Linked DNA regions of Homo sapiens: regions 1 and 2 are each linked to region 3. The links are contacts of gene promoters, found by promoter capture Hi-C in human tissues and cell types (Jung and others, 2019). All regions are on one chromosome and are shown on one strand. The core of a region is centred on a gene start or on the middle of the fragment in contact, and the rest is flanking DNA. Distances in the headings are between cores, read along the strand shown. Region 1 has its middle 61 kb from the start of SC5D. Region 2 overlaps SORL1 (sortilin related receptor 1). Region 3 holds the start of HSPA8 (heat shock protein family A (Hsp70) member 8).

Region 1 (3,098 bases), core at 286-2,785, 1.7 Mb before region 3:
GACAAGGCCTAATGTCCAACATCAAAACATAAATCAACACAGCTGTGGATGCTGCCTCCCTTCCTAATTAGCATGAGAAATGTCATGTCCTTGGCAGCTCCCACTGCCTCTCTCTCAGTCCATAAAGCCAGTTGAGAGAGTTTTAGCAGCTGGGAGCCTCTTGTAGCCCTGCCAACCAGCCTTTCCCCAAACCCGAGGGAGCTGCCACCATCACTGCATTCTCTGCCAATAAGCCTGGCAAGAAAGCTGCTCTTCAGAAATTACTGCTTCTTAACAACCTTCTCCAGGACAACTCCTCACCTGACAGGCAACCCGAACCACAAAGGCCCTCTTGGTCTTCAGTACACCAAGTCCTCTAAAGCTCTAGCAACCAGCAGTAGCCTTTGCACAGAAACTGTAACATAAATGAGCTACACAAGTATCCTACACACAGAATATGAATTGCTCCACACAGAACATATGATACAAACATGAAGAAAGCGAATATCCTTCAATCTTGCATGTACTCATCAAGCATATTTATCAGTACCCTGGCACTGACAGCGAATGGGGCTCACTGCAATTAACTCGACCCTGGATTGGTGATTGAGACAGCTGTCAGTCCTGAGGAAGGGGCTGCTAGTTTCCCTCCACGTCTCATTCTCATTTAACCACCATCTCCCTCCTTCCATTCCTTTCACCCAACCCGTGACCAATCTCAGTGCAAATTATGCACCCTTACCGAACACTACATTGCAGGCCATTTGAGCACTCACAGCTGGACTCACCATCTGCATCTACCCACTCCAGTGGCTCAAACCTACTTACCTTCTAGGCTTTTTTTTTTTTTTTTTTTTTTTTTGAGACAGTGTCTCACTCTATCACCCAGGCTGGAGGGCACTGGTACAATCTTGGATCACTGTAACCTCTGCCTCCTGGGTTCAAGCAGTTCTCCTGCCTCAGCCTCCAGGGTAGCTGGAATTACAGGCACATGCCACCATGCCAGGCTAATTTTTGTATTTTTAGTAGAGGCAGGGTTTTGCCATGTTGGCCAGGCTGGTCTCGAACTCTTGACCTCAGGTGATCCACCCACCTCAGCCTCCCAAAGTGCTGGGAGTACAGGCATGAGCCACGGTGCTGGGCCAGTTTTTTAAATTTCAATTAAATACACTGCCCCAAACGTATTCATCCAAGTAAGAGCCCTAAGATTTTGCAAAAGGCCCTCTGCTCCTATCTTTCCTATTTCGATTCTATTGCAAACTCTGATTCATTCTAACTCTTTAAAATTTGTTTTTAAAAAAGTCAATGGATCTATGTTGTCCTTCTCAAGCCCAATTCTTCATTAGTTTCTACCCAAGTGAAGTTAACTTTGGCAGATCTAGTTGTATCTGTCCTACACACTTGCTATTCCTTCTTTTGGTAACTGCACCAGTTTATCTTTTAGGGAAGTGCCCTTCCTCCATTTCCTGAGGAAACTGATGGTCAAGATACACCTGCTGCCCCAGTCCACAGGAGTGGCCACATAACCATGGCCTGGACAATCATAGTGCCCAAAACTCTTGTCCATTGGGAGACATGTTCTACACAGAGCCCATCAGAGTGCTCCCATGAAATTTGATATAAGGATTCTGGGAAAAAGAGGGTCTCTTTTACTTCCGAACCAAAAGTTATATAGCTCTTGTTATTAAAAATATAGACTTGAGGTTTCCAGCAACCATCCTTCCTGCCATTGGACATAATCTGTCTGTGGTATTAGAGAACATAACACATAAAGAAAAGAGAAAACTAGCAGAGTCAAGAAATGGAGAGACACTTGATGTCCTTGTTTGAGCTCCTGGATCCAGCTGTGCCTGAAGCCTTTGCACTCTATTATGTGACTGTGTCTCTCTCCCCAGAAATTTAGCTTAGCTAGTTTAAGTTGGTTTTTGTGTGTGTGTGAATTGTAACTGGAATATTGACAAATACCCCTCTAGATGGTTTTCTTGCTTCTAGTCTCACCCTGCTTTCTTCAGTCTGTCTCCCTGACAGAGTAAACTTCATAAAATACATCATGATTTATAAAATATATATATAGATAACATGCAAACAAGAGTGTTATTTCCTTGTTTAAGAAGCATCAGTGACTCCACATGACCTACAGGATTAAGTCCAAACTCCTTATCATGACATGTTAGGCTCCTGTGCTCTAGTGGCTATTTCTCCATTCTCACTTTTAATCATTACCTCTCTTGTCCTCTTCATGCTCCTAAACACTGTCACCATCTCATCCTCTAGCTTCGCAAACATTCTTGTCATTTCTTTAGCTTGACTTGCTGTTTCCATATTGTTTTTCCCTCATCATTGTTTTTTGTCTGCCAGGTGAACTCATAACCATCCTTTGGACCCCAGCTCAAGAGATGCTGACTTCTTCAGGTAGAGTTGGTGAATCTCTCCTTTGTGCCCCACTATATCCTATACAGACCTTTATTGTAGTATATGTGATGGCTTATTTACATGACAATCTCAACCACTGGACAAAAGCTTATTTGGGGTCAAAGCTCACATCTTGACTTTGAGCTCCCAGCACTTAGCACAGTGCCTAATATAGTAGGCACACAGTAAATATTTGATAAATGAGTGATTGAGCAAATGAGTTAATAAAAGCCCTAAAGAGTATACCCTGAGGATAGCATGGCTCAGAGAGGTTATGCCAACAATCACATTTAAACACATCTAGGACAAGCAGGCTTGACTAGTTACCTGTTTATCTCTCTCCATCCTCATTTCTATCTCCATCTTATCACTGTGCTGTTCCAAACTGGAAGACATGGATAACTGATGAAGTAAAATTCAAGTTTTTCTCCCTGTGATATTGTGAAATATATATTTGGTCTTCATCCCCATTTCCTGGCATACAACTCCTAAATACTCCTAATCTCTAAGGTGATTTTTTTGTATGCTAATAAGTTGACTGACGGCTGTCAGCCCCTATGTGTCTTCAGGATGGGATTGGTCACAGGAAAGACCAAGACATGATTAGAGGGTTGGGACTTCGAGCTCCATCCCCGAACCTCGGGGGAGGGGAGAGGGGCTGAAAGTTAAGTTGATAACCAATGGCCAATGATTTACTCAATCATAAT
Region 2 (3,073 bases), core at 362-2,861, 1.5 Mb before region 3:
GTGTTTCTGCAGAGTGGTTCTGAGATATAGGGAAAGCCCCTTTGAAAATCCAATGAAAACTATAGAATATGCACAATATCCTGAAGTTAATAATTGCTTTTTTCATTTGTTTGCTTAGGTTGTTTTGTACCATTTGCCAATGCTTTCTGCCTTTCAGTCGCCACTCAGGATAACTTTCCACAGGTCAACATGTCCAGGGATTTATCAAGTCCAGTTTTTCTCTTGGAGATACTCCTTCTAACAACGTGGATTCTCCTTTCGGGACAGATTGTTCTCTAGTCCTGCTGTGTGCCTGTTACCCAGGGACTTTCACTGCCTCCTTGGAATTCTCTTTGCCTTTCTCCCAGTTTAGATTCCTTGTTTCCTGGATCTTGTGTGTTGCTTTTTCTTGGTTTACTCCCTTGTTTGGGTGGAGTGCATCCTTCAGTAGCCTTGTCAGGTGAATATGATGACGCAGTGGCCAAGGACACTGTGATGACAGCTCTCAGGTGTTTGTCTCTTGAATTTTGCTGCTCTGGTTTGTATTGGTTGCCCTGTATACCTGGGGCACAACTGCCTTTTAGGACGTTGCACCATCATCATCTTCAGGATTTCCTTTACCTCCATCTCCTGTTGGAACTCCTGTTTTCTGTGTCCCAGTTTTTCTCTTTTTAGTTTAATCCCATGTTTCAGTAGAGCACGTTTTCTGGAAAATGCCTGAGAAAATGTATGTGGGAGGCCTGTGTGAGGTCTTGCTTGTCTTAAAGTGTTTTAATTCTGTCTTCAGACTTAATTGATAGTTGGGCTGGGTTTGGCGTGCTAGATTGTAAGTAATTTTCCTTCAGAGTTTTGAAGGTTTTGTTCCACTGCCTTCAAGCAGCTTTTCGGAAATCCAAAAGCCATTTTGATTCTGATTTTTTTTTTTTTGTATGTAACCTGTTTTTAATCCTCTAGAAGCTTGTAGAATCTTCCCTTTGGCACCAGTGTTTTAAAATTTCACAATGATGTGCTTTGCTCTGAGACCCTTTCCATCCAACATAGCGGACACTTGCATGCTTTTTGATATGGAAGTTTATATATTTTAGTTCAAGGAATTTTTCTTGAAGTTTTTATTAATGATATTTCCCTCTCTGTTTTCTCTTATTTCCTGGAACTCTTGTCATTCATATATTGTCTCCTGATCTGGTCTTCTTCCTTATTTTTTTGTTTAATCTTTTATAGTTTTGAAAATTCCCTTCCCCCACCCCCCCAATTTTCTAGGAGATTTACTCAACTTTATATTTCAACTCTTTGCTGAGTTTTTCATCTTTGTTGTCATGGTTTTAACTTTAAGAGCTTCTCCATTTTTACCACTGTCCCTTTTTATGGTATCCTGTTTTCTTTTTTTCTTGGATAAATAATATATTCTTTCTTTCTGAACGTATTAAGGATATTTGTTTTTGAAGTTTTCTTCTTGCAAAGCCTCTATTTCCTCCAAATGGCCTTTTTGGGGGTTAGGGCTCTGTTTGGCTTTCTGCCTTTCATGTCAAAGCCTTTTCTCAGATAGTTCTTGGTTGCTGCTTGTATTTAAGGCTGGGGACTAAAGTGCTGGTAAGTAATTCTGAGCACATGGGTGGGCTTGTCAACTTCGAGGTTCATGGCTGGGAACCATGGGGGAACTCTGAATCTTGGTTACTTCAGGGTTAGTCTCTGAAGCTGGTCATTTTCCCCAGAGAAGATTATTAGATCTCCTGCCTAGACAATAATTACCTTATTGCTAGGATCCTCGGAGAAGAGGACTGGGACTTCCATATGTAGGTTTAATCCCCCTTTTATCAGTAGGATATACTTGCTGTCAACTACGCCTATCTAAACAACTCTCTGTTTTTACTTTCTCCAAATAACAACCCTCCATTCTTCTATTGGGGTGACGTATGGGTTGGTTGCCTCGTGGGACTGATAGGAGGGGATATAAGGAATGTAGCTGCGTCTTAAACATCATTCAGTCAGTTCCCTTATTTTAACTCCTTCTTCACTTCCAGTTAGATGCCAGTTTCTGAACTTTTGGAGGACTGTGTGTTGTTGATCTGATTGGTTCTGAGCTTTCTCCTGTGACGGCTTAGGGTAGGACGCAGCCTTCGCTGGCCTCTTTAGTCACATACCGCTATCTGTCTTCTTTCCAGCTCCCAAATCTCATTATCCATGTCCTCGTGGATTTAGGTCTTTGAAAACAATCTCTTGACTGTGGCTTTAGTGGGATCCTGTGGGGAAGCAACATTAGATGTCTGTATCTACTCTGCTCTCTATCCGGAACTCGCATTTGTCTTCAGGTTCCCATTGTAATTTCTAAAGCACCGTAATCTCCTAGCATATTGATTGGTTGCTGTTATTGGCCAGCTCCCTCAATATTAAAAAGTAAATTTTAAAAATCTTTTATTTTAGCAAACGTCACTGCTGCCTCCACTCCCACCCAACTTGGGCGATGTGACCGATTTGAGTTCGAATGCCACCAACCGAAGACGTGTATTCCCAACTGGAAGCGCTGTGACGGCCACCAAGATTGCCAGGATGGCCGGGACGAGGCCAATTGCCGTGAGTAGTCAGAGAGCCCTTCACCCCCTGGGCACGTTTCTGCAGAGAGCACAGTTCTGGTGCTTCTGCTTCATTTCTGGATCAGCACACGCCTGTGTGTGAGTCTGTGTACTTGCGTAACCATGCTCTTACTGCATTCTCCACAAGCGCTTTGCCACGTGCACCCATACCATTGCGTTAGTCACCTTCTTTTTAATAAGTTGACTGCGTTTTAAATACCAGGAGCGTGTCCAATAAAAATACTTTCTGAATGACTAAGATAAATATTTTAAATAGGTTTCATAAGCATGTTTAACTCTTTAAAAACGCCCTTGGGGAAAGCCACAACTCTTCTGTATGTACATTCATTCTTCTGGAAGTATTTAGTGAGCACTTACTGGGCGTAGAAGCTGTGTTATTAGAGGGTTTGCCTCTAGCACCCCATTAAGAAAATTCATTCTCAGTCCTTAGGGTAATTATGGTTGGTGAGATAGTGTGCCGAGCCACATGGGGAATAATCACAGGGCCATCTGAGCCCAGTGTG
Region 3 (3,134 bases), core at 125-2,624:
GCATCATCAAATCTGCGTCCAATCAGACGTTTGGCATCTGTAAAAGGTGTCAAATGAAAACACTTTCAATTTCATAGCTCTTCTGATAAAACTCAAGTCCATGATTACTCAAATACCTAACAGTTCATAGGTAGGTGAATTCAACTACCATATAGGTAGCAAAGGTTCAAACTTCAACCTCCTACGTTATCCAGATTTCAGCCTGAAAGGTTTCTACAACCTGTTTTATAACAGACTTGATAACAAGTCTCTCAGCTCAGTTTTTCTAAAATCAAAAAGTTCCCTCCTCACGTTTCATAAACTTTTGTGCTTCCTAGCCCTGTTATATTTGTTCTGTCATTTAAAATTAGGAACTCACCAAAAACTGTGTTGGTGGGGTTCATTGCAACTTGATTCTTTGCGGCATCACCGATCAACCGTTCAGTGTCCGTAAAGGCGACATAGCTTGGAGTGGTTCGGTTTCCCTGATCATTGGCAATTATCTCGACTTTTCCGTGCTGGAAAACACCCACACAAGAGTAGGTGGTGCCAAGATCAATACCAACTGCAGGTCCCTTGGACATGGTTGCTGAAAAAAAGAAAAATCTGGTTTAAAAATTCAATTAATCAAAATATTTCCCTCATCCCTTAACAGAACACTTAACCAGGAAAAACGTATGGCCACTGCCAAGAGGTAATAGTGCCCATCACCTCCTGTCTAAGCACGCGCGAGGTCCAGAACTAGTGCTGCAGTCCAGGTTGCCGTGCCAACCGCAGCAGAGCACGCCCTAGATGAAGGACCCATCTACCCAGACGGCGTGGGGCGTTGCTCAACACGTGGTCTTACCCCGAACTGAGCACTGTCTGTTCCCCTCCCTCGCCAGGTGCCAGTGCCCCCGGGAGTCAACGGGCTTTTAACTACTCCGGAATGTACCCCCATACTGGAAGCACGCCAAGAACAGCTCTGAAGAACCACGGTGGGACTGGACTAAGCAGGGAACTGGGTGAAAGAAAACGCTGGCTCCACTTCCCCGCGCGCCAGGCAAACCGATGCAGCAACCCTCCCCCGCCACGCGGCCGCCGGGCGTCTCCCAGCCTCCCCTGGGGCCACTGCGGCCCACTCCCTACATTTCCGTCCTGCCGGCTGCAACCAAATACCGCTGCCATCCCACCGAAAACTGAGGCCCTTTAAGCCGGTAGAAGGAGCCGCACACTCGCCTCGACGAGATTCTCAGAACCCCCAAGCCTCAGCAAGCCCAACAGGCCTGTGTGGAGGCTGCACGCTCCCAGACCCACAACCCAACTCTTGAGCAGAGGTTTTACCTGGGGTGTAGGCCTGGCTCCAATAACGAAGGAAGCCACAAAAAACCCAAGAGCTGCAGGCGAGTTCAATGAGACCGGTTTCCGCCCGCCACCCTGCCTCTTATACCCTATCTTAGAACCTTCCAGAAGGGGCCCGCCCCTGCTGCCTGCCATTACGGCTTCCCCGGCCAATAGACGCCCGGCTGCCCTTACAAGACCCAATCACAAGCCCGGCTCCACTCCTCGGGCCTCGCCCCCTTCCGCACCCACCCCACCGCGCTCCGCCTCACGATAACGCACTCACCGCAGCGTTCTGGAACTTTCAAGCTCGCCCCCGCTCTCCGGACGGCCCCGGGGAAAGGGAGGGTGGGGCGCAGCGAGTCCGCGCGCGGGAGTCCTCAGTTACCCCGGGCGGGGGAGGGGAGCGTCCACCTCTACGCATGCGCCCCCAGCTTCCGCGGGAGGGAGGGGGCGGAAAAAGGAGGAGGAAGAGGGGCGGGCAAACTTGGAACTAACCAATGATAGCGGCGCTAGCCGGGATCTTGGCCGGCACAGAACTGGGGGCGGAATCGCGCGGGGCCTGAAGGGAGGGGTTTGGGCGCGGGAGCCGGGCAGGAGAAGACGGAAGTGGAGCGAGGACAAAATGGCTGCGAAGGTTGTTGCTCCCCTCCCCCACCCACGTCCGAATCCTCCTTTCCATGCCCCACCTTCGTGTTCCAGACGGGCCTCTAAGTGCCCCGGGTTTCGCGAATCTGTATTTCATAGCGTGGCTTTGGACAAGGGCTGACCCCGAGGGGCTGGGGCGAAGGTTCCGGCTTCAGGGTGCCACTAGGGCTGCTCGCTCACGGCCCCCCAGGATTGGGATTGGAGGGAGCCGCCAGGCCGCCGCGGGGTGGGGCGGGTTAGCTCGGCAGGCCTCCCAGCACCTGCATTTCCCTACGGCAACTGTCGGGAGGCAGCCCCCGACGCAGAGGTTTAAGGGGCCCGGCTTTTCAGAACCGCCTCAGGACGCGGTCGTGTCTGGATCCCTCCGCGGAAAAGAAGGCGAAACCGCTTCTCTGAGCCCTGACCGTTAGGCCCCTTCCCACCTCCGTCTAGAACAGATTCGGCTTCTTGGCTCAGTCCTTCCCCAACTAGCCCAAGCCCTACATTTCCCCGTTGTTTATAAAATAAACAGGTTTAAATGGTGGCGAGTGTGTTCTTGGTTAGGTGAACCAGGCATTAGGAATCATAGGTTCCAGTAGCCGTGCGTCCTTGATTTAGACTTTCTGAACGTTTGTATTTTCAGTAACATGAGGTGATATCTTTCCTGGTTTGACTTTCATCAAAAATTAAACGACAGACCATACCGACGCTTTGAAAACGTGACTGAGCTGGTGCACAAAACAATGGTGCCTAGAATTTTGAATTGTGCAATGTTGTGCATGGCCGCGGATATGTGGGGCCTTGTGGTTCCAAGAGCCTGTCTCAGGTACCTTGAACACTCCCTGTATCCTTTCAAGCAGGCGAGGTAGCTGTTATTCCTATTTAGTAGATAAATAGGCACCGATGGGGGAAAAGATTTTTTAAGGCTACACCAAAAGAACTTTTAGTAGCAGGGCTGGAATTAGAAGGTCTCTAGACTGCGAAAAAGGCTGTCAGAAGAGCGAGGACATCTTGTCCTTGTCAAAGCCAGTAAAGGGTAGAGACAGACTCAAACATATGAAGAATTTCCTTTTCATATTTTCCTTTTGGGGAGGAATGTTGGCTTAGAGTTCATGGAGATATATTCTTAGCCTCTCCCACGTCCCAAGAATTTAATTTTATACAATGCTTTCACTACATACAAAATGCTTTCATTTGTCATTTAATCA

Evidence for each region. Contacts are between HindIII fragments. The study calls those that stand out against the background at their distance.
Region 1: a contact is called between a fragment that was not itself captured here and the fragment with the promoter of HSPA8 in region 3, in 1 of the 25 tissues and cell types used here (dorsolateral prefrontal cortex).
Region 2: a fragment that was not itself captured here is called in contact with the fragment with the promoter of HSPA8 in region 3 in 1 of the 25 tissues and cell types used here (hippocampus).

What each region holds. Positions count from the first base shown.
Region 1 is chr11:121,352,558-121,355,655 of GRCh38, forward strand. No RefSeq gene overlaps it. Among named protein-coding and RNA genes, the nearest start is that of SC5D, 61 kb to the left of the region's middle. The HindIII fragment of the contact is 4,702 bases long and covers 1-3,098 here.
Region 2 is chr11:121,593,223-121,596,295 of GRCh38, forward strand. It overlaps SORL1 (sortilin related receptor 1), which reads left to right. Exons shown (of 48, transcript NM_003105.6): 32 at 2,401-2,550. Among named protein-coding and RNA genes, the nearest start is that of SORL1-AS1, 140 kb to the left of the region's middle. RefSeq lists an enhancer at 2,033-3,073. The HindIII fragment of the contact is 7,178 bases long and covers 1-3,073 here.
Region 3 is chr11:123,060,762-123,063,895 of GRCh38, forward strand. HSPA8 (heat shock protein family A (Hsp70) member 8) reads right to left here and starts at 1,375. Exons shown (of 9, transcript NM_006597.6): 1 at 1,303-1,375; 2 at 359-568; 3 at 1-37. The coding sequence starts at 563. It overlaps LOC124902775 (a long non-coding RNA gene), which reads left to right and starts at 1,901. Exons shown (of 2, transcript XR_007062927.1): 1 at 1,901-2,770. RefSeq lists enhancers at 1,124-1,293, 1,854-2,123 and a silencer at 1,444-1,833. The HindIII fragment of the contact is 26,894 bases long and covers 1-3,134 here.